Regions from separate parts of the Homo sapiens genome. Here all the other regions are linked to region 4. The links are contacts of gene promoters, found by promoter capture Hi-C in blood cells and fetal thymus (Javierre and others, 2016). All regions are on one chromosome and are shown on one strand. Each heading gives the region's core, a stretch centred on a gene start or on the middle of the fragment in contact. The rest is flanking DNA. Distances are from core to core; before and after follow the strand shown. Region 1 overlaps DNM3 (dynamin 3). Region 2 overlaps DNM3 (dynamin 3). Region 3 overlaps DNM3 (dynamin 3). Region 4 holds the start of MYOC (myocilin).

Evidence for each region. Contacts are between HindIII fragments. The CHiCAGO score rates a contact against its expected background, and 5 or more counts as called.
Region 1: a contact is called between a fragment that was not itself captured here and the fragment with the promoter of MYOC in region 4, in 4 of 17 cell types (activated CD4 T cells, total CD4 T cells, naive CD4 T cells and 1 more). The highest score is 8.1, in activated CD4 T cells.
Region 2: a contact is called between a fragment that was not itself captured here and the fragment with the promoter of MYOC in region 4, in 5 of 17 cell types (activated CD4 T cells, naive CD4 T cells, M2 macrophages and 2 more). The highest score is 8.3, in activated CD4 T cells.
Region 3: a contact is called between a fragment that was not itself captured here and the fragment with the promoter of MYOC in region 4, in 1 of 17 cell types (activated CD4 T cells). The highest score is 6.6, in activated CD4 T cells.

What each region holds. Positions count from the first base shown.
Region 1 is chr1:171,971,465-171,977,897 of GRCh38, reverse strand. All of the region lies in intron 2 of DNM3 (dynamin 3), which reads right to left. Among named protein-coding and RNA genes, the nearest start is that of DNM3-IT1, 110 kb to the right of the region's middle. The HindIII fragment of the contact is 3,249 bases long and covers 2,269-5,517 here.
Region 2 is chr1:171,991,377-171,998,408 of GRCh38, reverse strand. All of the region lies in intron 4 of DNM3 (dynamin 3), which reads right to left. Among named protein-coding and RNA genes, the nearest start is that of DNM3-IT1, 130 kb to the right of the region's middle. The HindIII fragment of the contact is 5,276 bases long and covers 1,245-6,520 here.
Region 3 is chr1:171,951,227-171,957,879 of GRCh38, reverse strand. The region is part of intron 2 of DNM3 (dynamin 3); the gene reads right to left. Among named protein-coding and RNA genes, the nearest start is that of DNM3-IT1, 90 kb to the right of the region's middle. The HindIII fragment of the contact is 4,113 bases long and covers 1-3,524 here.
Region 4 is chr1:171,649,669-171,656,094 of GRCh38, reverse strand. MYOC (myocilin) reads left to right here and starts at 3,407. Exons shown (of 3, transcript NM_000261.2): 1 at 3,407-4,087. The coding sequence starts at 3,484. The HindIII fragment of the contact is 6,597 bases long and covers 1-5,398 here.

The DNA of each region.
Region 1 (6,433 bases), core at 2,644-5,143, 320 kb before region 4:
CAGGAACTATACATGTGAGAGTTGTAATGTTCAGGTTGTAATTGAAGCCACCGTGTGGAAGAGATTGTCAAAAGAAGAATATGAAATGACAACCAAAAAGGAGCCTTGGGCAGATGCAACCTTAAAGGCCAGATAGAAGATAATGCATTGGCAAGGGAGCCTGAAAGAGTAAACAAAGAGATAGAAGGAAAACCAGGAATATTTTTCATATAAGCCAAAGACATAGAGTAAATTTCAAGAAAGAATTGATGTCAAAAGCTGTTGAAAGGGCAAGGTAAGTTAATTATAAGGATGTAGGAAACCGTATAGTAGATGCTCAATTTCTATCTAATTCCAATTGGATAGAAAATTTAAACACTTTTTATTATTTCAATGATTTGGGGCTATAGATTACTTTGTTTACTTAAAAAGTGTTTTATGTGCTATTTTATGCTTTTTTTCTCCCCTTGTGTCTCTTCCCTTGCTATCAAGTTTACAGTTGTCACTTCTTGCTGTTCGCAACACATCTGTTTTTAAGCCATATTCCCATTCTCACTTGTGGTTTTATATTTTACTCTAGACTGAGAAATCCAATAACCCAGTATGCATGGTCTGAGTTTAAAATAAGGCTGGAAAGGCCAGAATAAGGCTGGGACCCTGTAATGCATGAGATTTACATCAAAGACTTTGTGATATCAGTTGGGTACTCAAGGCTCTTTTTTGCTTCCTCTTGATAATCAGCTAAGTTTAGAAACTGAAAATATCAAAAAGAGTTTCTGAATAAGGAGTTATTCCAATGTTTTTTAAGAATAATTGAATGTACTAATTCTGAGACAGCAAATGTCAGTCCTTGTTTTAATAATGAAAAATAAGATGATCTGCCAAATAAAAATCTATAGAGTAATTAAAAGCAAAATGATGAGACTTTGTCATGAAAATTCAAATAATCAGATTTCAATACAAAAAAATACAATAGAAAGTCTAAGATTTACAAAATGAAAATACTGTTTCCCCACAGAATCTTGGCCACAAGGAACAAAATTTATAAATGAGATTTAAGTAGTAGTTGTATCAGAACTCTAAGTATATAAATACGTAACTAAAAAATTTTTAAAGAAAATATCAGAGCTACAATATGCATTGCTGGATACATTATAATATCTCAAAAAACCACAAAAAACTTTTTCTATGAGTATGTAATTTTATACACAAGTTGCCGCCAACATTATTTCATCTAAATATTTGAAGGAGATCTTTAGTGTGTTTTTGGTAAGCTCCTTAAATGTCAATGATATGGTTTGGCTGTGTCCCCACCCAAATCTCATCTTGAATTGTAGCTCCCATAATTCCCACATGTCATGGGAGGGACCCAGTGGGAGGTAATTGAATCATGGAGGTGGGTCTTTCCTATTCTGTTCTCATGATAGTGAATAAGTCTCACAAGAGCTGATGGTTTTATAAAAGGGAGTTCCCCTGCACATGTTCTCTTGCCTGCCGCCATATAAGATGTGACTTTTCTCCTCATTCACCTTCCACCATGAGTGTGAGGCCTCTTCAGCCATGTGGAACTGTAAGTCAGTTAAGCCTCTTTCTTTTATAAATTACCCAATCTCCAGTATGTCTTTACTAGCAGTATGAGAACAGTCATCATGACAAATTCCTGAAAGTTGTTAGCAGCTGGAAACAGCCAACTTAATTTTTGTGTATGGTGGAAGGTATTAATCAAAGTTTATTTTTTGCATGTAAATATCTATTTTTTTCCAGTAACCTTTGTTGGAAAGACTACCATTTCTCCACTGAATTGCCTTTGTACCTTTGTCTAAAATCCATTGTCTACATATGTGTAGATCCATTTTTTGAATCCATCCTGTTCCATTGATCTATTTGTCTCTTTATGCCAATGCCATATTATTGATTATTGTAACTTTATAAGCCCTCATTTTAAGAGATAGGGTCTTGCTAAGTTGCCCAGGCTGAAGTGCAATGGTTATTCACAGGCACAATTATAGCACTGTACAGCCTGAACTCCTGGGCTCAAGCAGTCTCTCTGCTGGCTAGGATTACAGGCACAAACCGTGGAACCTGTATAATAAGTCTCGAGATCAGATAATGTTAATTCTCCAACCTCAATGTTATTTTTCAAAGTTGTTTTGGCTATTCTGGGTTCTTTTATTTTCATATAAATTTTAGAATCAGCTTGTCAGTTTCTACAAAACAATCTATCTTTTGAATCTTTATCTGCAACATTGTAACATCATTCAGAAAAATTTTCCTCTTCTGGCTCAAGCTTGCACATATATAACCACAACATGTTTTGCTAAAAGCACAAGTATGTTCCCATGATGCTTGCTCTGATAAACGTATTAAACTTTAACAAAATCACAGATTCTTATAACTTGGAGTGATATCTATTCTAAACGCTTTACTAATAGAGAAGTCACTTAAGTATTGTTTGGGGTCCTACAAAAATATTTATTATCAATGATGTCCCAAGCAACATCGACCTAGTCAGTACAGTATAACTTGGTAATAAGAGTACATATTCTTACATTAAAAGGTCTAAACAAATAAAAATAAAGATTTTGTCTTGTAAATATCATGGAAATTCTTGGACATATGACAATTGGTTATATAAAACTAAAATGCCGAGCCAATTCATCTGATAAGACGCTTTTGCTTAGAAATGGTAGAAATAATTCTATGACTCAGGCAATAGAGTCAACCCAATCATTTCTTGAAAGTTTTTTAAAAAGCAAAACAATGGCCAGGTGCAGTAGCTCATGCCTATAATCCTACTGCTTTGGGAGGCCAAGACATGAGGATCACTTGAGGCCAGGAGGTCAAGACCAGCATGGGCAATATAGCAAGACTCCCTCTTAAAAAAAAAAAATCTTTTTTTCATTAGCTAGGCATGGTGGCATGCACGTGCAGTCTTTAGCTATTCGGTAAACTGAGACAGGAGGATTGCTTGAGTCCAGGAGTTCAAGGGTGCAGTGAGCCTTTAACTCCAGCCTGGGTGACAGACCAAGACCCCAACTCAAAAAAAAAAACAGTAGAAGAAGAAGAGGGGGAGAAGGAGGAGGAGAAAAAAGAAGAACCAAAGGTTGTCCTTAGTATGAAGAAAACTCAATTAATGGAACAGGTCAACTAGTGTATAAATTATCTAAATTGGGATAAACTTAAAATATTTAGAAGTTTCCCTTAGATAATTTTTGTTTTTAATCCCAGAGGATTCTTACAAGAATAGCCAGCACTCAGTAAAACCTAATGCATTATGCAGTCAGTTTAAATGATGCTAACAGAAATGCACCTATAAAGAAAACAAACTAAAGTTCGGATCCAAAACTTTGTATTATGGTTTTCTTTAACTCAATTTGTATGTAAATTAATACTTAGCTATGATAGTCACTAATTTTCTCAATGGGAACTTAATGGAAAACTCTCTCACAAGGACAACCACCCTCAAAAGAGAGAGCCCCTCAAAAGGGACTTAAATATGAAAAGTAATCAATTTCTTTTGCAAAATAGATAAAATTATGGGAGTGGAAAAATAGACAGTCATGAAAAATATATGAGAAAAAAACTATCTTACTTGAAAAGCAAGTGCACTCATTTTAGAGGGTCCTTAATATGAATAATATAGATCACAATGAAAACTGCAATTTCAATAACAGTGTAGTGACTACTCAGTGATCTGATTGTGTCATCATATGAAAAACTGATTTGAAATACTGCATTATTTAATAATACTTAGTAGTTTCATAAATTTAGAAGTCTATCCAAAATATCTGCAGCATCCCTCTCTCAACCTTTGAGTTTATATGTAAATTACTCCTGAAATAAAGTAAGTTTCTTCTTGTTAACCTCACAAGAGTCAGCCATGCCTACAGTATTCTGAAGTAAAAAACACTAGTGATTAAAAAAAAAACAAAAACACTAGTGATTAAGACTTTGGGCGACGAGTGGTGGCTCATGCCTATAATCTTAGCACGTTAGGAGGCCAAGGCGGGAGGATCACGTGAGCTCAGGAGTTCAAGACTAGCCTGGGCAACATGGTGAAATCCCGTCTCTACCAAAAATCCAAAAAATTAGCCAGGCATAATGGCACATGCCTGTAGACCCAACTATTTGGAAGGCTGAGGTGGGAGCATCACTTGAGCCCTGGAGGTTGAGGCTGCAGTAAGCCAAGATTATGCCCCAGCCTGGGTGACAGAGGGAGATCTTGTATCAAAAAAAAAAAAAAAAAGATTTTGGAGTCAGACCCATGTTTGAAGGGTCTGCAATTTCTTTATCACAAGACTGAGAAATTACTTAACTTCCCCAAGCCTCAGTTCCCTCCACTGCAAAATAGTGTCTCTTTCATAGGTTTCAGTGAGGGCAAGAGAATGAATTCTTCTGCTTCATTCACCAAAATTCTCCCAGTAACTAGGTATAGGGTCTCAACAAATTCATACTGTATCAAAGAATATATGAATGAAGGCATTTAACACATAGTAAACCCTTAATTAAAAAAAAAGAATTGAGTAAATATGTAACAATTAATCTAAATAGCAAAAGCCTTAGCCTCAAAGAGGTTAAACAAATTGCCTGAGGTTACACAGGTAGGAGATGCCAGTCAAAGATTTAAATCCAGACATTCTGACTCCCAGTTACAATCTGTTAGCCACCCCACATTAACTGTGTGTCACTACTTCAAGCTCTCCCCTCCAAGAGGCTTTGATTCCAATTCTTAGCTTTTAACATCTTCTTTGTTATCAACTGTTCATTCTTTCCACCAGCACCACTATCCCTCCTCCCCCGCCCCCTACATATGGGCATTTCCCAAAATATAGGAATCATATCTCCTACTCTTTATACTGCGGTTCTTGTTTCTGGGGTTATGACTACTTTAAGCATCTGAGAAAAGCCACGGAAACTTTCCCCATAAAAATGTACTAACTTACATATACACAGAATTGTGCAAATAACTTCAGGGTATTGAGAGAGAACTCTGCTCCACCCTCTTCCCCACAGGAATCTGGGGTTTTTGTTGTTGTTGTTGTTGTTGTTTTTGTTTTTTGTTTGTTTTTGAGATGGAGTTTTGCTCTTGTTGCCCAGGCTGGAGTGCAATGGTGCGATCTCAGCCCACTGCAACTTCCACCTCCCGAGTTCAAGCGATTCTCCTGCCTCATCCTCCCAAGTAGCTGGAATTAGAGGCATGCGCCACCACGCCCGGCTGATTTTGTATTTTCAGTAGAGACAGGGTTTCTCCATGTTGGTCAGGCTGGACTCAACCTCCCGATCTCAGGTGATCCGCCCACCTCGGCCTCTCAAAGTGCTGGGATTACAGGCATAAGCCACTGCGCCAAGCCTAGGAATCTGTATTTAAAGTGCCTCGCATACTGCCTTCTGCACAGCAAACACTCAATAACTGGTTTTATCACTATTATAGTATATGCCTATCAAAACAACCTAACAAGGCCCTCTTCAAATATCATTTCCACTAAGAAACTTCCCTTGATCTCTCCACTATAAGGAATGTGTTTCTCCTCTAAAGCTTTTCAAGATCTTGTGAATGTACTACTTACGTGATTTTGCATGTAGAAACAGCCTTAAAGATTTTCTACCAAAGCCAGTGCTTGCTCTTTACAGATAAAGAAACTAAATCCCAGAAGGCTAAGTAACACGTTCAAGAATATTCATATAACATGTATTACGCCTTCCACAGCGTAGTAACTAGTTGTTTGTGTTTTATCTCCAGTGCTACAAAGAAAGTGCTTAGAGAGTAGGACTATGTCTTCTACATCTTTGATTTAACATTCCTTAAGGATACAGAAATGATTACAAGAATAAATGAATGAATGATTCCAAGTCAAAACTGAACTACTATTTGCTGTTTTTCAAAGACTATGAGGTCTTGAATACCTCTTTCAGCATTTTAGAACTTCCAGTGTTCTTTTCCTCGTTCAGTATGAACCAACACTCTAGAGCAAAATCTCTCAGACTTTCCTTTTAGAAGCAGATCTTTTTATGAGCCATCTCCTCCCCTTCTGGTCTAATCAGTTATAGAGACTAACTCAGGATAAGACTCTCAAGAGTATGTTGTTGCTGTCTGGACTTCATTTTCGTATGAAGCTTAATACCATGAAAATATTATATTTTCAATTTCCCAAAACCTGTGTTGGCTTTTGTGATAAGGTTTTCTGGGTTTTTTGTTTTTGTTTTTGTTTTTTTAGCAAGCCTTCAATTACACATTGTGCTTCTTAGGTTGCAGAATTCAGACTATTTTGCTTCTTAGGTTACAAAGTTCAGATTATTTTCCATTCTGTAATATATCCTTTCAATTGGGAGTGGCGTTTTCTGGCCATATGAAAATCTGCTACTCATTAAAGAATTAAAGAACTACTACTATAGGGAAACAAAGTGTTAAGCTATATTTCATAATTGAAGAACTTACCAAAGTTGGAAAAGAAGA
Region 2 (7,032 bases), core at 2,633-5,132, 340 kb before region 4:
TGCTCACTGAGTGCTTTGTGGATGTAATCAAGAAGCATTCATTTAGTAACATAAGTGTGAACTCCTAAACCAATTGTTTTTCCTGCATTCACAATATTTGATCTAGAAGTTTAGAGCAAACCACAGTGTAACTTTAACAGTGTTTCACCATATTTAGTATTGTAAAATTTCATATTTTGGCTTCTTTATATTTTTTAAGTCTAACATGTGTTCATGATTATCGCTGAATAAAGTGCTTATAACAGACAGAGATAGATGATATAATGGAAAGAATTACACTATTGGCATCTGAGACAGGCACTTTTATCATGCATCAGCCTCTTACCAGCTGCTTGACAGTGATCAACTTCCATGACCTCTCTAGCTCAATTCCACCTATAGAAAACTGGGGTGATGCCACCTGACTGGCATACTTTGGATTATAACATATGCACATGGTGTTATTACACAACTCATTTCACTTGAATTAATATATGCTGCAGGCCAAATCACATCCCCTAAAACATGAAAATGTTCATTTCATAAAGCTGATCATCCAGGGACTTCTGTGACTCTTCACACACAAGATGCCATGTAAACCAATAGCCTATTTTTTAGAATGGTGGAGAAACAAGAAGATAATCAGAAACACGTACTGAGCACCTGCTAGTCTAGTGTACTACCAGGTGATACAGCACATTGAACTTACACTACTGACCAGGAGCATTTTGCTGGCTCAACAGATGCCTGATAAATGTCTTTTAAGCAACAAATTAATAAACTAACAAAGGGAGTGACTGAATTGTTAGTGTATATGAGCACGACTGTAAATAGCTGAATGGTTCCTGTCCCATCTGGGGTGCCAATAAATAAATAAACAAAATAGCTGGAGGAAGTGCTCCTTTGAGAAAGCACTGAACGCTCTCTCTATGGCGAGACTGTGCTAGGAATCTTAGTCTGCTCCTTTACTCTAAATCCATGAGCAGCAGCTAGCATAGTCCTGAAGCAAATCAAGCCAAGCTCAGGATAATCCTCCTTCTATCCCACCCCAGCCCCAACCTACCTAAGACCTTCTTTCACCTATAGTTAATCTAGCCATTTGCAGATGAATCTGAAATTATGCTTATTGCATAACACATTACTAAAATATTCAAAATAATTCTATTACAATTCTATTTTTTAGTATTATCAAGCCTCATTAAATCATATGGGTGTGGGCAGTAGTTTGAATTATGAAATATAACTGATTGCTTTAAAGAAAAGCTTATTAAATTTATAAGTTCTATACAACAAATAAAATAACAAAGCCTGGTAAAGTTTCCTTTAATTATTTTCAAGAGGAAAATAACTGCTAGCATTTGGTTAGCTATTTCGACTAAGTGTTATCTTTTTTTTTTTGAGACAAGGTCTCACTCTGTCACCTAGGCTGGAGTGCAGTAGCGTGATCACAGCTCACCACAGCCTCAACCTCCTGGGCTCAGGTAATCCTCCCACTTTAGTCTCCCAAGTAGGTGGGACTACAGGCATGCGCCACCACATCCCACTAATTTTTTTTATATTTTTTGAACAGACGGGGTTTCACCATGTTGCCCAGGCTGGTCTTGAACTCCTGGGCTCAAGCAATCTGCCCACCTTGGCCTCCCAAAGTGTTAGAATTATAGGTGTGAGCCACCATGCCGAGCCAATTATTATCTTTATAATAATTTATCTTAATTATTATAGCAAACTTTTGAGGTAAGGGTTATGATAATTTCATTTCATTTTAGAGATTAAGTAATAAGGTTCAAAGAAGTTAAATAACTTGCCCAAGGACACACAATCAGGATGTGATGGATCTGCTTCCAAGCCCTGTGTTTATTTTTATCTACATCATTTAATAAGGCACCTAGCAGAGGAATGGTCTGATGAAGTGGAAAAAGTACTGGAGGAGGAGAGGAGGGGCTATACCATAAGCACATGGTGTGTTTACAGGTATGTTATTCAACCACTGTATATATTACCTAGAAAAACTTCCTTACCCCAAAATAGGATCTCACCCATACCAACCTCTAGTATTCTGGTGAAACTAAAGCAAAAGTAAGAGCACTTTGAAAAGTAAAGACCACTATACAGAGAAAAATATATTCAAAACATCATATAATTCTGATGGCTAGGAGTTTGACATTTCAAATTATATAGCCATTCCCCTTGAAATTATGCTAAAAACCCTCTTCTACTCAGTAAAACTATTTTTCACAAATGATGCAAAAGATGAGCTTGAACTTTGTCTAGCCACAAATTTGTGACATTCTACATATACTGAAAGAATAATTTCATGTGAAACTTAATATAAAATATATGTAAATACATCCCAACATTTAATAATACTTATTTTATAGAAGTTTTCAATCTGAATATTATTATGCAAATAATTTATAATTAACTTATCAAGATGAGCTGTCTTCCCAAGCATATATTCCAATATACTCAAATCCCGTTTAGGTGAAAATTGCCTGTCTATTGTCAAAAAGATTTAATTTAGTACAAAGTAGCTACTGCCTAAAATACACTACCTCTCAGAAGACGATAATTATGTACCTTGGTGGATAAGATTCTAATTCAGATAAATAAAGAATGAAGAATGGTCCTCTACTATCTAAATAGGTCATCCTGCTTAGCCAAGGGCAAAATATCAGGAAAGATGTACATTAAGTGGTGAGAACAGGCCACTTGCACAGTCAACCAAATCATTCCTGAAGACCAACAGGGTAACAGATGTCATAACCAGATTGCCCTCACCATCCCAACTCAAATGACTGTTATATGAAAAGTTTGTTGTTATTACAGTTGTATAGGACCAGAATGAGGAATATAAACGGGAATGCTGGAATAAGGACCTCTGAAAAGGCCACTTCTCCATAAAGGCAGTAAGAAAGAACACTGGCAAAAATTGTTAAAGCCAACTGTTTCAGAACTCTGGAAATTAACCAAAGGCTTACAACAATCTGAGGAGTAAATATTCAAAAAAAAAAACACCTGGATTTCTAGCTAGGCACAGTGGCTCACACCTGTAATCCCAACACTTTGGGAGGTCGAGGTGGGTGGATCTCTTGAGGTCAGGAGTACAAGACCAGCCTGAGCAACATGGTGAAACCCTGTCTCCACTAAATGCAAAAAATTAGCTGGATGTGGTGGCACATGCCTGTAATCCCAGCTACTTGGGAGGATGAGGCAGGAGAATCACTTGAACCCAGGAGGCAGAGGTTGCAGTGAGCCGAGACTGTGCCATTGCACTCCAGCCTGGGCAGCAAGAGCAAAAACTCCATCTCAAAAAAAAAAAAAAAAAAAAAAAAACCTGGATTTCAGTAAGAACAACAAGCCGTATGGTGTTTGAACTTGCCCTATGCCCATCCCCCTCTCATCTCTACAGTAGCCTTGAAAACAAAAACACCACAGTCATGATGAAAATCAGAACCCTAGAAACCCCTGGAGGGGACAGAATGGGGTTGGAGAGCATCAAAAATACAATTTTCAGACAATTGTAACTATTTAACCTGTCTAGCAGTTCCCTAAAAACCCCCATTCACAGGGCTTTTCTTTACTTGACCTGACTCAGAGCTTATTCAGTGTGAAAAGCCTCTTTCCCCAGAAAAAATTTGTCAAAAATAATCAGTGGCAATTGTTCAACATCACAGGTCTCAGGGAGCAATAACAATTGGGGCAAAAAAAAAAAGAAAGAAAGAAAAAACTAACCAAAAAACTTAAAAGGAAAACTTGGGAATGAGATGGCCACAAAGGCCATTGAAAATTTTGTATATATGTACAACCTAGAATCTAGAAAGCCACATGCATGTTTGGGGTTTTGTGCAAACACAGCAAAGACCTCAGAAGATCCTAAATTCTCACCTCTAGCTCACCTTGAGCTCTGCATAAGCAGGAAGTTAGGATTAAGGCAGAGTTGTAAACTGTCTGCCTGAGCATTGAAGCCATACCCCAAAATGCACATTGAGAGCTTTGGTAAATGTTTAGCGATTTACTGACTCTAGTATTTAAGAAGATCCCTGTCCTGACCACTAAAAAAAAATGCTGAGCAAAGACTTAAGTGGCCACACACGACAAAGAATATAGACTTGCAGAATTGGTTCATGAAAATTAGTAACCAAATAAATAGCACCTGCAGCAACAATAAACAGCAACAAAAACTGGAAGGGAGAGAGGAATCTGGTTTCTAGTGCTGCCACATCACATTATTTAAATATCTAATTTTCAACAAAAAAATTTTAAGATATGCAAAGAAAGTATGGCCCACCCAAAAGAAAATATACAGTCAATAGAAACTGTCCCTGAACAATCCCAGAAATTGAAATTACTAGACAAAGGCTTTAAATCATCTATTTTAAATATGTTTTAAAAACTAAAAAAAAATAATAATCTAAAGAACAAAAAGAATGTATGAGAATAATGTTTCACCAAATACAGAATATCAGTAAGGAGACAGAAATTTTTTTTTAAAAGAACCAAATAGAAAATCTGGAGATAAAATAACTGAAATAAAAAAATTCACTATAGAGATTTAATAGCAGATCTGAACAGGCAGAAAGAATCAGCAAACTTGAAGACAGATCAATTGAGATTGTTCCTCCCAGTCTAAGGAAAAGAAAGACAAAAGAAAGAATGAAGAAACATGAACAAAGTCTCAGAGATTGGTGAAAACATCTTACCAACATACATACCAACATACACATAATGTGATTCTCAGAAAGAGAAGAGGAGAGAAAGAGGAAGAAAGAATAGTTGAAGAAATAATGGCTGAAAATTTATCAAATTTGACTTAAAAAGCATTAATCTACACATCCAAGAAGGTCAACAAACTCCAAGTAGGATAAACTCAACAAGATCTGTACCTACAGATATCATAATCAAACTGCCAAAAGACAAAAAAAAAAAAAAAAGAATCTTGAAAGCAGCAGGAGAGAAGAAAATCATGTTCAAAGGATCCTCAATGAGATTGACAGCTGAATTTTGACCATGGAGGTCAGATGGTAGTGGGATGACATACTCAAATTGATGAAAGGAAAAAAACTTTAAGTAAAAATTATCCTTCAAAATTTAAGGAGAAATTAAGACATTCCAAGATAAACAAAAACCAAGAGAATCCCTTACTGACAGACATAGCCTACAAGAAATACTAATGAGAGCCTTTCAGGCAGAAAAAAAAGGACACTGGACAGTAACTCAAATACCCAGGAAAAACTGAAGAACACCAGTAAAGTTAACTACATAGTTAAATATAATAGACAATATAAATGTATTTTTGTTTGTAACTCTTTTTTCTCATATCTGATTTAAAAGATAATCATATAAAGCTATAATTATATTTCTGTGTTGATAGGCATGTAATGTAAAAGTTGTGATTTGTATGACAATAATAGCACATAGGAAGGGGAGGGAGTGGAGCTATATAGGAGCAAAATGCTGTGTATTATTGAAATTAAGTTGGTATTGATCCAAACTAGATTGCTATAAATTAAGATGTTAATTGTAATCCTATGGCAACCACTAAGAAAATAACAAAAAAGTAAAATAAATGACCAAGGAATTAAAATTATATACTAGAAAATAAATATTTAACACAAAAGGAGATAGTAGCAGAGAAATAGAGAAACAAAAAGACATAGGACATACACAAAAAGAATGGCAAAATAGCACACATAAATTCTATCTCATCAGTAATGACTCCTACCAAAACTTTCAAAAGTCTCCTCTTGGGACCACCATATATAGGATATAAAAACTGGGGGCAAGTAGGTCTGTAAATGGTGGAGCAGCAGTTCTAATGATCCACAAAAAAGGAGATTTATTTTAGGTAAGTTCATGAACATTTACATGACAATTTCTAAGTGGCACCTAATAAAAATGAGTTTGTAAATAAGCCAAGCCTATGATAGTTTTTTTTTAATCTCATTTAACTTTCTGGAGTAGATTTGTGGCATAAAATGACATACTCCTGACTGACAGTCAATGCTATATTTTCCTTACGCTATAACAACACATCGAATATACTGGGAATGACTTTGTGGATATTGATTCCTTTCTGGCAAACTGATGACTCCCTCCACAAACATTCATTGCTCTCACCTAATGATCTGTGATCACATGAGTTTATTTTAGGTCATAAATGAATCTTCTTCTGAAAAGCCTGAGAAATGAGATGTAGTTACTGCCCATTAATATTCCCTATGTGCACAACAGGGGTAAAATATAGCATGAATATGTTAAACCAATTTTAAGAAATCACTTTACAAGATTTATTAGTTGGCCAATTTTTTTAGTTTACATTTATTATAAAATTCATAATACACACAAATAAAATATTCTCCAATGGCTTTTCTTCTACTAGATTGGAAGTTGTGAGGATGTGAGACAGGATATCTATAGCCATCTTGTCACCCTTGAAAAGAATTTATCTTAAAAAAGAAACAATTTCAAAGAGGCTGAACCAAGGTAGGACGAAAGAGAAATCAGGGACTGAATGGTATCATTTGCAGTCCTCCATGAAGCTTCATCTGGATTGTCATATTGCGGTACGCATTTTTAGTCTTCTTCCCTATTCCCCAGCACACAACTACTAAAGTCCTTGGAATCTTCAAAGTGATAAGTATCTTTTTGCAGGCTAATGGGTTGGTAAGTGGCTGGCAGCTCCTGGATAGCTTCAGCAAGTGGACTGGTCACTAGAAAGAACAGATATGACCTCCTAGGAGGGATGAGGGGCTGAAGTTTAAGTTGATCACCAATAGCTAATGATTTAATCAATCATGCCTACATAATGAAGCTTCCATAAAAATCCAAAATGGGCTGGGTTTGGAGAGCTTCTGGATAGCTGGAGATGCAGAGGTTTCTAGAGGATGGTGTGCCCGGAGAGAACATGGAAGCTCCACATCGCTTCTCATACATTGCCCTATGCATCTCTTCATCTGTATCCCTTGTAATATTCTTTATAACAAAGAACTGTTTCTCCGAGTTTTGTGAGCCCCTCTAGCAAATTAATAGAACACAAGAAGAAGGTTGTAGAAA
Region 3 (6,653 bases), core at 219-2,718, 300 kb before region 4:
AGGGCTCAGAAGACAGGAAAATGTGGGAAAGTTTGGAACTTCCTAGCGACTTGTTGAATGGCTTTGACCAAAATGCAGACAATGAAATCCAGGCTGAGGTGGTCTCAGATGGAGGTGAGGAACTTGTTGGGAACTGGAGTAAAGGTGACTCTTGCTATGTTTTAGCAGAGACTGGCAGCATTTTGTCCCTGTCCTACAGATCTGTGGAACTTTGAACTTGAGAGAGATGATTTAGGGTACCTGGCGGGAGAAATTTCTAAGCAGTAAAGCATTCAAGAGATGACTTGGGTGCTATTAAAAGCATTCAGTTTTAAAAGGGAAACAGAGCATAAAAGTTTGGAAAATTTGCAGCCTGATGATGCAATAGAAAAGAAAAACACTGGGCCGGGCATAGTGGCTCACGCCTGTAATCCCAGCACTTTGGGAGGCTGAGGCAGGCAGATCACAAGGTCAGGAGATCGAGTCCATCCTAGCTAACATGGTGAAACTCCGTCTCTACTGAAAAATACAAAAAATTAGCCGAGTGTGGTGGCGGGCACCTGTAGTCCCAGCTACTCAGGAGGCTGAAGCAGGAGAATGGTGTGAACCTGGGAGGTGGAGCTTGCAGTGAGCAGAGATCACACCACTGCACTCCAGCCTGGGTGACAGTGCGAGACTCCGTCTCAAAAAAAAAAAAAAAAGAAAGAAAGAAAGAAAAGAAAAACACGTTTTCTGAGAAGAAATTCAAGCAGGCTGTAGAGATTTACATAAATAACAAGGAGCCTAATGTTAATTGCCAAGCCAGTGGGGGAAATGCCTACAGGGCATTTCAGAGGTCTTCACAGCAGCCCCCCAACCCCCATCACAGTTGTGAAGGCTGAAGAGGAAAAAATGCTTTTGTGGGCCCAGGATCCCCCTGCTCTGTGCAGCCTAGGGACTTGGTGCCCTATATCCCAGCCACTCCAGTCATGGTTAAAAGGGGGCAAGGTATGGCTTGGGCTGTTGCTTCTGAGGGTGCAAGTCCCAAGCCCTGGTAGCTTCCATGTGGTATTGAGTCTGCGGGGGCACAGAAGTCAAGAATTGAGGTTTGGGAACCTCTGTCTAGATTTCAGAGGATGTATGGAAATGCCTGGATGCCCAGGCAGAAGTTTGCTGCAGGGGCAGGGCCCTCATGGAGAACCTCTGCTGGGGCAGTGTGGAAGGGAAATGTGGAGTCAGAGCCCTCACACAGAGTCCCTTACTGGGGCACTGCCTAGTGAAGCTGTGAGAAGAGGGTCACCATCCACCAGACCCCAGAATGGTAGATCCACCGACAGCCTGCACTATGCACCTGGAAAAGCCACAGACACCCAATGCCAGCCCATGAAAGCAGCCAGGAGGGGGGCTATACCCTACAAAGCCACAGGGGCAGAGCTACCCAAGGCCATGGGAGCCCACTTGTATCAGTGTGACCTGGATGTGAGACATGGAGTCAAAGGAGATCATTTTGGAGCTTTAAGATTTGACTGCCCCACTGGATTTCAGACTTGCATGGGGCCTTTATCCCCTTGTTTTGGTCAATTTCTCCCATTTGGAATGGGTGTATTTATCCAGTGGGTACCCCCATTGTATCTAGGAAGTAACTAACTTACTTTTGATTTTACAGGCTCATAGGCAGAAGGGACTCGCCTTGTCTCAGATGAGACTTTCGACTGTGGACTTTTGAGTTAATGCTGACATGAGTTAAGACTTTAGGGGACTGTTGGGAAGGCATGATTGGTTTTGAAATGTGAGGACATGGGATTTGGGAGGGGCCAGGAGCAGAATGATATGTTTGGCTATGTCCCCACCCAAATCTCATCTTGAATTGTAGCTCCCACAACTCCCACATGTCATGGGAGGGACCTGGTGGGAGATAATTGAATTATGGGGGCGGATCTTTCTCATGCTGTTCTCGTGATAGTGAAGAAGCCTCATGAGATTGATCATTTTATAAAGGGGAGTTTCCCTGCACAACCTCTCTCCTCTTGTCTGCTGCCACGTAAGACATGACTTTCACCTTCTGCCATGATTGTCAGGCCTCCCCAGCCATGTGGAACTATGAGTCCATTAAACCTCTATCTTTTGTCAATTGCCCAGTCTCAGGTATGTCTTTATCAGCAGCATGAAAACAGACTAATACAGCCCAGTTAGCTTCTACTAATTAAGATTCAACTTAGGCATCTCTTCAACAGAAAATTTTCCTTTAATGCTACCTATGCCTCTCACCTATTAGGGCAGGTATCTCTCCTCCATATTCCCACAATAGACATGGTTATAGTTATGGGAATGGAAATATGTATGGTCATGTGTGTGGATATGTATAAAGATATAGATAATAGCTTTATCATTTTATTGACCACATTGTACCATTTAAGTCTTTGACTCCCCTTCTGGTCTATGGGCCAAAACTATCTCATATTCCTCTCTGATGCCCTTATATCTGCCACACAGCTGGAAACACACAGTGCACTTAATATATTGGAAAAAAGTGAGTTGATTTATCATTGTTTTGTGTAACCATAAAAGTTAAAATAACTATATTTTAGGGAATCATATTCTCTTTGAAATGATGAAATGTATTATCTTTTATAAGTGCACATTTATCAAATTTTCTAAAGTACAGTGGTGCATAGCTTTCCTACCATTAAGCAGTTCATTTAGCCAATGCAGCCATGCAAGCAGTAAACTTATGGCAACTATTCTATGGCTAAGGGATAACACTTATCCAGCAACTCACTTACTCATAAGAGAGTAAGAGCCAAGAGCCCACCTAGCTAGAACTACAAGGTAGAAGGTTGCTATCACTTAGCAGTACTGCCCACAGAAGTACTTCAAATTTTATTTTAACATGCTGAGCCAGGTGTTTAAAAAGGAGAATATTAATTTAATTCCAACAGAACTTCTCTACCTTCAAATTGTGCTGACATTTTATTAGTAAGTTAAATATTTTAATTAAAACAGAACTGCTTAGCATCAAATCACTACAATTCATTAATTCTCTGCTGAAAACATATTTTTAGCTTTCTCAGGAAAAATTGCATAACACAATGTTGCCCCAGTTTCCACAATTCTAGTTATTCTACTTGAAATGCCACACTGTGAAAATATGTTTTCATTAAAAATCCTCCATCTCCTGGTGGTGTTTTCCTTTGGTGTAATTTAGAATTTTCTAGACTTGTTACCAAGGACTAAACCTCCCCTTGCAGGAGTGAGCAGGCATGCTAAATTGAAATGGAAGGTGATCTGATGTAAAACGCCGCTGCCCACAGAGGGAACTGCGTATCAGCTGTGAGAGCACTAAGCAGCAAAGTGATTTAAGAGCATTACAGTTGACAGCCACTTTACTATCTTAAGAGGATTTCATTTTCCATTTTGTCAACAAGGAACAATATACTTTGCATCCAGAAATTAAAGAAGGGTAAGAATGTGTGAGGAAGAACAAGATGCTATTCCAGAAACTCCTTGACCCACTTCTAACAAGCATTATTTCCCCCAGGAATTTGGACGAGGTTAGATAGTAAGCTTATTATAACCACAAAGGAGAAACTGCAACCAAATTGGAAAAGAGAATCAGGACCCAAAATTATCTCACCAGGCTGGAATCATCAGTCAAATTTAGCAAAAGAGATTTACTATGATAATACATGCAAAGTACTGTTCTTAAATCAATGCTAATAGAGGATCCAGGCAAAGTGCAAAAAAGAAAAAAAATTTGGCAGTTACAATGGGCTGCAAGTTCACTATGAACCAGTAATAAAGTGTCCTGGCCCCAAAATTAATGTGATCTAAGACTGAGTTAATTGCAGGTTAATGTCCACAACAGAAGGGGCAGTAGTCCCTCTGAGTTATGTGCTAGGTTGAGCCCACAGGGATTGCATGCAGTATTGGATGTCATGCTTTAACAGCTTTACTGACAAACTGGAGTATATGAAAAAGGACAATGACCACAACGGTGAGGAAACTAAATCCCACATCCCATACTTTCCTACAACAAATTAAAACAAAAGCATAATGGGAATTCTATGCCATTTATTATAAAGGCATTTCTTTTAAAGCTAAACCTTCTTGGCAACTTTCCTGTCTACTAGAAATCCTTCAGTTAAAATTTTTTAAATGAGGTCAGAAAATGATGTATTGTAAATAAAATAAAGAATTGGGGTCAGGCATGGTGGCCTGTAATCCCAGCACTTTGGGAGGCTGAGGCGGGTAGATCACCTGAGGTCAGAAGTTCGAGACAAGCCTGGCCAATATGGTGAAACCCCATCTCTACTAAAAATACAAAAAATTAGCCAAGCATCATGGCATGTGCCTGTAATCCCAGCTACTCGGGAGGCTGAGGCAGGAGAATTGCTTGAACCCGGGAGGCAGAAGTTGCACTGGGCTGAGATCACGCCACTGCACTCCAGCCTGGGCAACAGAGCAAGATTCTATCTTGGGAGGAAAAAAAAAAAAAAAAAAAGAATTGCGCATGGGGCATGCTAAATGCTTCCCTAAGTTCTCATCTATTTAAAGGTCAGATAACTGATATCATGAAAAGTGCCAGATGACTTGACTAAACTAAAATCATAAATGTAATTATCTTAATTGAAGGTGTGCATATGGCATTTAATTACAAAGGAAAAAAATAGCAGCAAAGTTTGTGATAAGTAGGCGATAGCAAGCATCACATTCAGCTAGCATATGATGTTTGAAAGAAATAAATCTGCAAGAACTAGATATGAGTGTGAGGGCATAGATGTTAGTCCTCTAGATACCTTAGCAGATCATCTCTTATATGGCAATTTTTATTTAGTTGAAATTTGATTATTTTAAAGTTTTGAAGTCCTTCCTTCCAACAAAGGACTATCATGGAAATACCTAGAATTATCACTCATTTCTTACCAAAAGCCATGACATAATAACTAACTCTCTGAATTGAGAGAATAAAATAATGTAAAAAGGAGAGTGTTTTATTCATGTTGGCAGTAAAACTGGTTCTATTAATGATGAGAAATACAAATTATAACACTCTAAGAGAAAATAGTTATTTAAACATAGAGGTACTACCTGTCCCAGTCATAGAAAGTTATTTGGTTTCTATAGAAGCAAAGAAGCAATGATATAAGTTATTCATTGATTCATATTGCAAAATAACTCTCTTCAAAATAGCCAATAAATGTACTAGTCTTTCCATTTATAATAAATTCCATGTACTAAATTTTGTGTTATTAAATTTTCATGGAATACAAACTTCTACTGTATTTGCCCCTGTAAATCAAAAATAAAATCCTAAGCCTCCCCAACCGATTGAAATGGATCCCCTCTGGGCCAAGGGAACCCCAGAGAAACCTGAAAATTTGAATTCTCAGCCGTGATGGAAAGGGAGGTTGGACATGTCTTGTTACACCCCCTCCCTCTTAGAGTTTAGACACAACTGACTGACCAGCATTACCATTAAAACAGAGATCATTAAGACCGAAAAAACAAACTCTTTGTGGCAATAAGATACCAAATTCCAACCTGACTCATGTAGCATCACATGACAGATAGCAGATCCTAAAGAAAATCAAAATGTTTTATCTCCAAGTATATTTCTTTGACATATTTTGACATGGTCCTGCAAAGCCATCTTTTATGGAGGAAGTTTGCATTTGCAGATAATCTCCATTAATGCAGCCAGGCTTTTCCCAGGTTTAAGAAAGGATTAACTAAAAGTGTGACATTTTAAGGTCCCCAAAAAAGACATCTGCCATCTCTTCTCTCTGAAGGCTGTTACCTGGAGGCTTCATCTACATAACAAGAACCTTGGTCTCCACAACCTCCCTTATCTTAATTCAAGAATATTTTTCCACTGACTTGAGGTCTTCAGACAAAGCTTAACTCTTTCAACTGATTGCCAATCACAAAATCTTTGAATCTACCTATGACCTGTAACACCCCAACTCTCACTTCAAGATATTCTTCCTTTTTAGGCTGAACCAATGTACACCTGCTATGTATTGATTTATGATTTTACCTACAATTTGTATCTCCCTAAAATGTATAAAACCAATCTGTAACCACTTAAGCTCACTTTCTCAGGACTTCTTGAGGCTGTTTCCTGCGCTATAGTCATTAATATGGGCTCATAATAAACCTTTTGAAATGTTTTACAGAGCTTAGTTTTTTGTCAACACCTCCACTAAAGCTTAAACTGAGTAGGATTTCACAAGATCCCAAATTCAGTATTCAGTAAGGATGTTGGGGGAACACATTCATTCATTCAAGGAGCATTTATATAAATGCCTATAAATTTCCCAGGAGCTATAAGGAGGTGTTTAGAATACAACATAAATAAGGCATGGTCTTCACTCTCAAGATGCTCATTGACCACTAGAGAAAACAATTAGATAAACCCCTAAACTTTAGAGAATGAGAATGGTTTTGCCAAACATAAGCACAGTTAAAGAAGAGAAAATCAAGTAGATGACAAACGAAACTTTCATAATGCAAAACACCGCATGTAAAATATTTCAAAGTTTGGCTCCTATTTCAATAATTTTGTCACTTGATAACCAAGTAGGCACCAAGTCTTACATTTATTTGGAGAGTTCAGAATATGAGATTTGCATCTTCCCTACCTTGAGATCAAAGTGTGTGTTTTATCAAAGTAATCATCATGTCTTAGGTAAAAG
Region 4 (6,426 bases), core at 2,158-4,657:
GAGACTCCTTGAAGCCCCCGGCAGAGGTTTCCTCTCCAGCTGGGGGAGCCCTGCAAGCACCCGGGGTCCTGGGTGTCCTGAGCAACCTGCCAGCCCGTGCCACTGGTTGTTTTGTTATCACTCTCTAGGGACCTGTTGCTTTCTATTTCTGTGTGACTCGTTCATTCATCCAGGCATTCATTGACAATTTATTGAGTACTTATATCTGCCAGACACCAGAGACAAAATGGTGAGCAAAGCAGTCACTGCCCTACCTTCGTGGAGGTGACAGTTTCTCATGGAAGACGTGCAGAAGAAAATTAATAGCCAGCCAACTTAAACCCAGTGCTGAAAGAAAGGAAATAAACACCATCTTGAAGAATTGTGCGCAGCATCCCTTAACAAGGCCACCTCCCTAGCGCCCCCTGCTGCCTCCATCGTGCCCGGAGGCCCCCAAGCCCGAGTCTTCCAAGCCTCCTCCTCCATCAGTCACAGCGCTGCAGCTGGCCTGCCTCGCTTCCCGTGAATCGTCCTGGTGCATCTGAGCTGGAGACTCCTTGGCTCCAGGCTCCAGAAAGGAAATGGAGAGGGAAACTAGTCTAACGGAGAATCTGGAGGGGACAGTGTTTCCTCAGAGGGAAAGGGGCCTCCACGTCCAGGAGAATTCCAGGAGGTGGGGACTGCAGGGAGTGGGGACGCTGGGGCTGAGCGGGTGCTGAAAGGCAGGAAGGTGAAAAGGGCAAGGCTGAAGCTGCCCAGATGTTCAGTGTTGTTCACGGGGCTGGGAGTTTTCCGTTGCTTCCTGTGAGCCTTTTTATCTTTTCTCTGCTTGGAGGAGAAGAAGTCTATTTCATGAAGGGATGCAGTTTCATAAAGTCAGCTGTTAAAATTCCAGGGTGTGCATGGGTTTTCCTTCACGAAGGCCTTTATTTAATGGGAATATAGGAAGCGAGCTCATTTCCTAGGCCGTTAATTCACGGAAGAAGTGACTGGAGTCTTTTCTTTCATGTCTTCTGGGCAACTACTCAGCCCTGTGGTGGACTTGGCTTATGCAAGACGGTCGAAAACCTTGGAATCAGGAGACTCGGTTTTCTTTCTGGTTCTGCCATTGGTTGGCTGTGCGACCGTGGGCAAGTGTCTCTCCTTCCCTGGGCCATAGTCTTCTCTGCTATAAAGACCCTTGCAGCTCTCGTGTTCTGTGAACACTTCCCTGTGATTCTCTGTGAGGGGGGATGTTGAGAGGGGAAGGAGGCAGAGCTGGAGCAGCTGAGCCACAGGGGAGGTGGAGGGGGACAGGAAGGCAGGCAGAAGCTGGGTGCTCCATCAGTCCTCACTGATCACGTCAGACTCCAGGACCGAGAGCCACAATGCTTCAGGAAAGCTCAATGAACCCAACAGCCACATTTTCCTTCCCTAAGCATAGACAATGGCATTTGCCAATAACCAAAAAGAATGCAGAGACTAACTGGTGGTAGCTTTTGCCTGGCATTCAAAAACTGGGCCAGAGCAAGTGGAAAATGCCAGAGATTGTTAAACTTTTCACCCTGACCAGCACCCCACGCAGCTCAGCAGTGACTGCTGACAGCACGGAGTGACCTGCAGCGCAGGGGAGGAGAAGAAAAAGAGAGGGATAGTGTATGAGCAAGAAAGACAGATTCATTCAAGGGCAGTGGGAATTGACCACAGGGATTATAGTCCACGTGATCCTGGGTTCTAGGAGGCAGGGCTATATTGTGGGGGGAAAAAATCAGTTCAAGGGAAGTCGGGAGACCTGATTTCTAATACTATATTTTTCCTTTACAAGCTGAGTAATTCTGAGCAAGTCACAAGGTAGTAACTGAGGCTGTAAGATTACTTAGTTTCTCCTTATTAGGAACTCTTTTTCTCTGTGGAGTTAGCAGCACAAGGGCAATCCCGTTTCTTTTAACAGGAAGAAAACATTCCTAAGAGTAAAGCCAAACAGATTCAAGCCTAGGTCTTGCTGACTATATGATTGGTTTTTTGAAAAATCATTTCAGCGATGTTTACTATCTGATTCAGAAAATGAGACTAGTACCCTTTGGTCAGCTGTAAACAAACACCCATTTGTAAATGTCTCAAGTTCAGGCTTAACTGCAGAACCAATCAAATAAGAATAGAATCTTTAGAGCAAACTGTGTTTCTCCACTCTGGAGGTGAGTCTGCCAGGGCAGTTTGGAAATATTTACTTCACAAGTATTGACACTGTTGTTGGTATTAACAACATAAAGTTGCTCAAAGGCAATCATTATTTCAAGTGGCTTAAAGTTACTTCTGACAGTTTTGGTATATTTATTGGCTATTGCCATTTGCTTTTTGTTTTTTCTCTTTGGGTTTATTAATGTAAAGCAGGGATTATTAACCTACAGTCCAGAAAGCCTGTGAATTTGAATGAGGAAAAAATTACATTTTTGTTTTTACCACCTTCTAACTAAATTTAACATTTTATTCCATTGCGAATAGAGCCATAAACTCAAAGTGGTAATAACAGTACCTGTGATTTTGTCATTACCAATAGAAATCACAGACATTTTATACTATATTACAGTTGTTGCAGATACGTTGTAAGTGAAATATTTATACTCAAAACTACTTTGAAATTAGACCTCCTGCTGGATCTTGTTTTTAACATATTAATAAAACATGTTTAAAATTTTGATATTTTGATAATCATATTTCATTATCATTTGTTTCCTTTGTAATCTATATTTTATATATTTGAAAACATCTTTCTGAGAAGAGTTCCCCAGATTTCACCAATGAGGTTCTTGGCATGCACACACACAGAGTAAGAACTGATTTAGAGGCTAACATTGACATTGGTGCCTGAGATGCAAGACTGAAATTAGAAAGTTCTCCCAAAGATACACAGTTGTTTTAAAGCTAGGGGTGAGGGGGGAAATCTGCCGCTTCTATAGGAATGCTCTCCCTGGAGCCTGGTAGGGTGCTGTCCTTGTGTTCTGGCTGGCTGTTATTTTTCTCTGTCCCTGCTACGTCTTAAAGGACTTGTTTGGATCTCCAGTTCCTAGCATAGTGCCTGGCACAGTGCAGGTTCTCAATGAGTTTGCAGAGTGAATGGAAATATAAACTAGAAATATATCCTTGTTGAAATCAGCACACCAGTAGTCCTGGTGTAAGTGTGTGTACGTGTGTGTGTGTGTGTGTGTGTGTGTAAAACCAGGTGGAGATATAGGAACTATTATTGGGGTATGGGTGCATAAATTGGGATGTTCTTTTTAAAAAGAAACTCCAAACAGACTTCTGGAAGGTTATTTTCTAAGAATCTTGCTGGCAGCGTGAAGGCAACCCCCCTGTGCACAGCCCCACCCAGCCTCACGTGGCCACCTCTGTCTTCCCCCATGAAGGGCTGGCTCCCCAGTATATATAAACCTCTCTGGAGCTCGGGCATGAGCCAGCAAGGCCACCCATCCAGGCACCTCTCAGCACAGCAGAGCTTTCCAGAGGAAGCCTCACCAAGCCTCTGCAATGAGGTTCTTCTGTGCACGTTGCTGCAGCTTTGGGCCTGAGATGCCAGCTGTCCAGCTGCTGCTTCTGGCCTGCCTGGTGTGGGATGTGGGGGCCAGGACAGCTCAGCTCAGGAAGGCCAATGACCAGAGTGGCCGATGCCAGTATACCTTCAGTGTGGCCAGTCCCAATGAATCCAGCTGCCCAGAGCAGAGCCAGGCCATGTCAGTCATCCATAACTTACAGAGAGACAGCAGCACCCAACGCTTAGACCTGGAGGCCACCAAAGCTCGACTCAGCTCCCTGGAGAGCCTCCTCCACCAATTGACCTTGGACCAGGCTGCCAGGCCCCAGGAGACCCAGGAGGGGCTGCAGAGGGAGCTGGGCACCCTGAGGCGGGAGCGGGACCAGCTGGAAACCCAAACCAGAGAGTTGGAGACTGCCTACAGCAACCTCCTCCGAGACAAGTCAGTTCTGGAGGAAGAGAAGAAGCGACTAAGGCAAGAAAATGAGAATCTGGCCAGGAGGTTGGAAAGCAGCAGCCAGGAGGTAGCAAGGCTGAGAAGGGGCCAGTGTCCCCAGACCCGAGACACTGCTCGGGCTGTGCCACCAGGCTCCAGAGAAGGTAAGAATGCAGAGTGGGGGGACTCTGAGTTCAGCAGGTGATATGGCTCGTAGTGACCTGCTACAGGCGCTCCAGGCCTCCCTGCCTGCCCTTTCTCCTAGAGACTGCACAGCTAGCACAAGACAGATGAATTAAGGAAAGCACAGCGATCACCTTCAAGTATTACTAGTAATTTAGCTCCTGAGAGCTTCATTTAGATTAGTGGTTCAGAGTTCTTGTGCCCCTCCATGTCAGTTTTCACAGTCCATAGCAAAAGGAGAAATAAAAGGACCGGGTGAGATGTGTCTGCATATGAGCAGTAGAAAGTTGTCAATTGTCCCTTTTGAAAAACTATCCTTTTTTGAACCTTTGCTCAGATTGTTATTTGTACCTTTTGATGTTAAAATGACCTTTATTTATGAAATTACAATAGATTTGGGAAATGATAATAAGTGGTAAGTTTTTGTTTATTTTTAAATGTTCTTCCCTGGCAAAATAAAGAGATGGCACCTCTCTGTCAGTTTTCTTAATATGTTGTTCTGAAAGTTTTCTTACTCAGTCCAATCTGAGAACCTCTGCTTTTAAGTCATCAGACAAATTCTTGAGATGGCTTTTTCTGAGAGGCTCTTCTGTTCATCCTGGTCCCTTCTTGCCTAAAGGTGAGTCTGTGTGTGTGTGGGGGGGGTGCGGGGGTGAGGTGTTGGGGGAGGTCTTCTTATTAGCTGGGAAGATGGTATTTGTGTCACTTTTTGTGAAAGTGGGCTCCCAAATATTCCCTGTTGAGGAAGTGTTCTAATCATGAGGAAATAAGCAAGCAAATCCAGTTGTTGGACAATTAGTTTGGACTGGTCAAAGATGTCAGTGCCAAGGAAGAAAGAAAAAAGGGGTGGGGAAGGGCTTGTTCTATATTAAAGAGACTAAAGAAATGTGTTAACCAAATGTAGTGCATGAGTCTTGATTGGTGTCTTCATCCAAGGGGGAAAAAGGCTATGAGGAACAGGTTTGGGATAACTGAGGCAATTTGACTGCTCATTATTATGTTACTGTATTAATGTTCAGTTTCTTGGTGAGATAATGATACTGTGGTTGCGAAGGATAAAATCTTTGTTCTATGGAGATACATGCTTAAGTACCCAGGGTGAGGCGTCAGGATGTCTGCAATTTGCTCTCAAATGGTTGAAGAAAGACTGCAAATATATAGATAATGAGAGAAAGAAAGGTAAAACAACTGTGGCAAAATATTAATAACTGGTGAATTACAAACTGGTGAATCTAAGTATATGGGGAGCTTATTGTACTATTCTTTCAGTTTTTCTATAGGCTTGAAAAGCTTTAAAATTATGAGAAAATATTTCCTAAAAAGAGCCTTCTACGTGAAAGGCAAGCTCTTCATAGCTATGGGGTTAGAAAACCTAAGAGCCAGAGCCTGGGGATGACCTTGGGCAAGTTATTGAACCCTCTGCATCTTCATTTCTTGTCCATAACATAACAAAGAAAATTCCTGCTGTGAATAATTTTTGTGGGGTTCACATGAAATACCTATAAGATGTAAAGGATTTTTAAAAAATGTTTAGATTGTTAGAATTAGAAGAGATCCAATTCTGAATTTTACAACCAAGGAAAGTGAAGTCCTAAGATGCTAAGGGGCCAAGGTTGCCCAGCTGGTCAGTGGTAGAGCTTGAGACTTGAATCTGTGGAGACAATTGAAAGAATCATCATTACCAGAAGTGTGATGAGGCATTACTTATTTCAGACTGTTGAATGAAGTTACATTCTCAATAAAAACTCCTGCATGTGTGTATGTGGGTGTGGGTGGTGTGTGTGTGTGTGTACAAAAATAGTGGCAATGTTTTGCCTTTTTTTTTCTTTTGTGGTCATTTAACAAGTCTTTGGGGATTTATTAGATGTGTTTCCTAATTTTATATTTTTTCTTGATCTTTCCAGCTACTCCACTTTTGAAATAAGGGCAACATCCCATTATATTGAACACCAAACATGGAAGTTCTTTTCTAGTAGTAGATGTTTTTCATGAGCAGGAAATTACATTAGTACAAGAATGTGGAACTGGAAAGGGACCTAATGAGCATCCGGTACCGCTGGCTGATTTTTGCAGATATGGAAACTGAGGCCCAGAGAGGTTATTCAGCTTGTCCATGGCCATCTACCAGTTAGTGGCAAAGCTCGAATTCTGGCCTCTTCCTCTGAAGTTCAGTGACTTTCTTTCTTTTTTTTTGAGACAGAGTTTCACTCTTGTTGCCCAGGCTAGAGTGTAATGGCACGATCTTGGCTCACTGAAACCTCTGCCTCCCGGGTTCAAGCAATTCTCCTACCTCAGCCTCCTGAGTAGCTGGGATTATAGG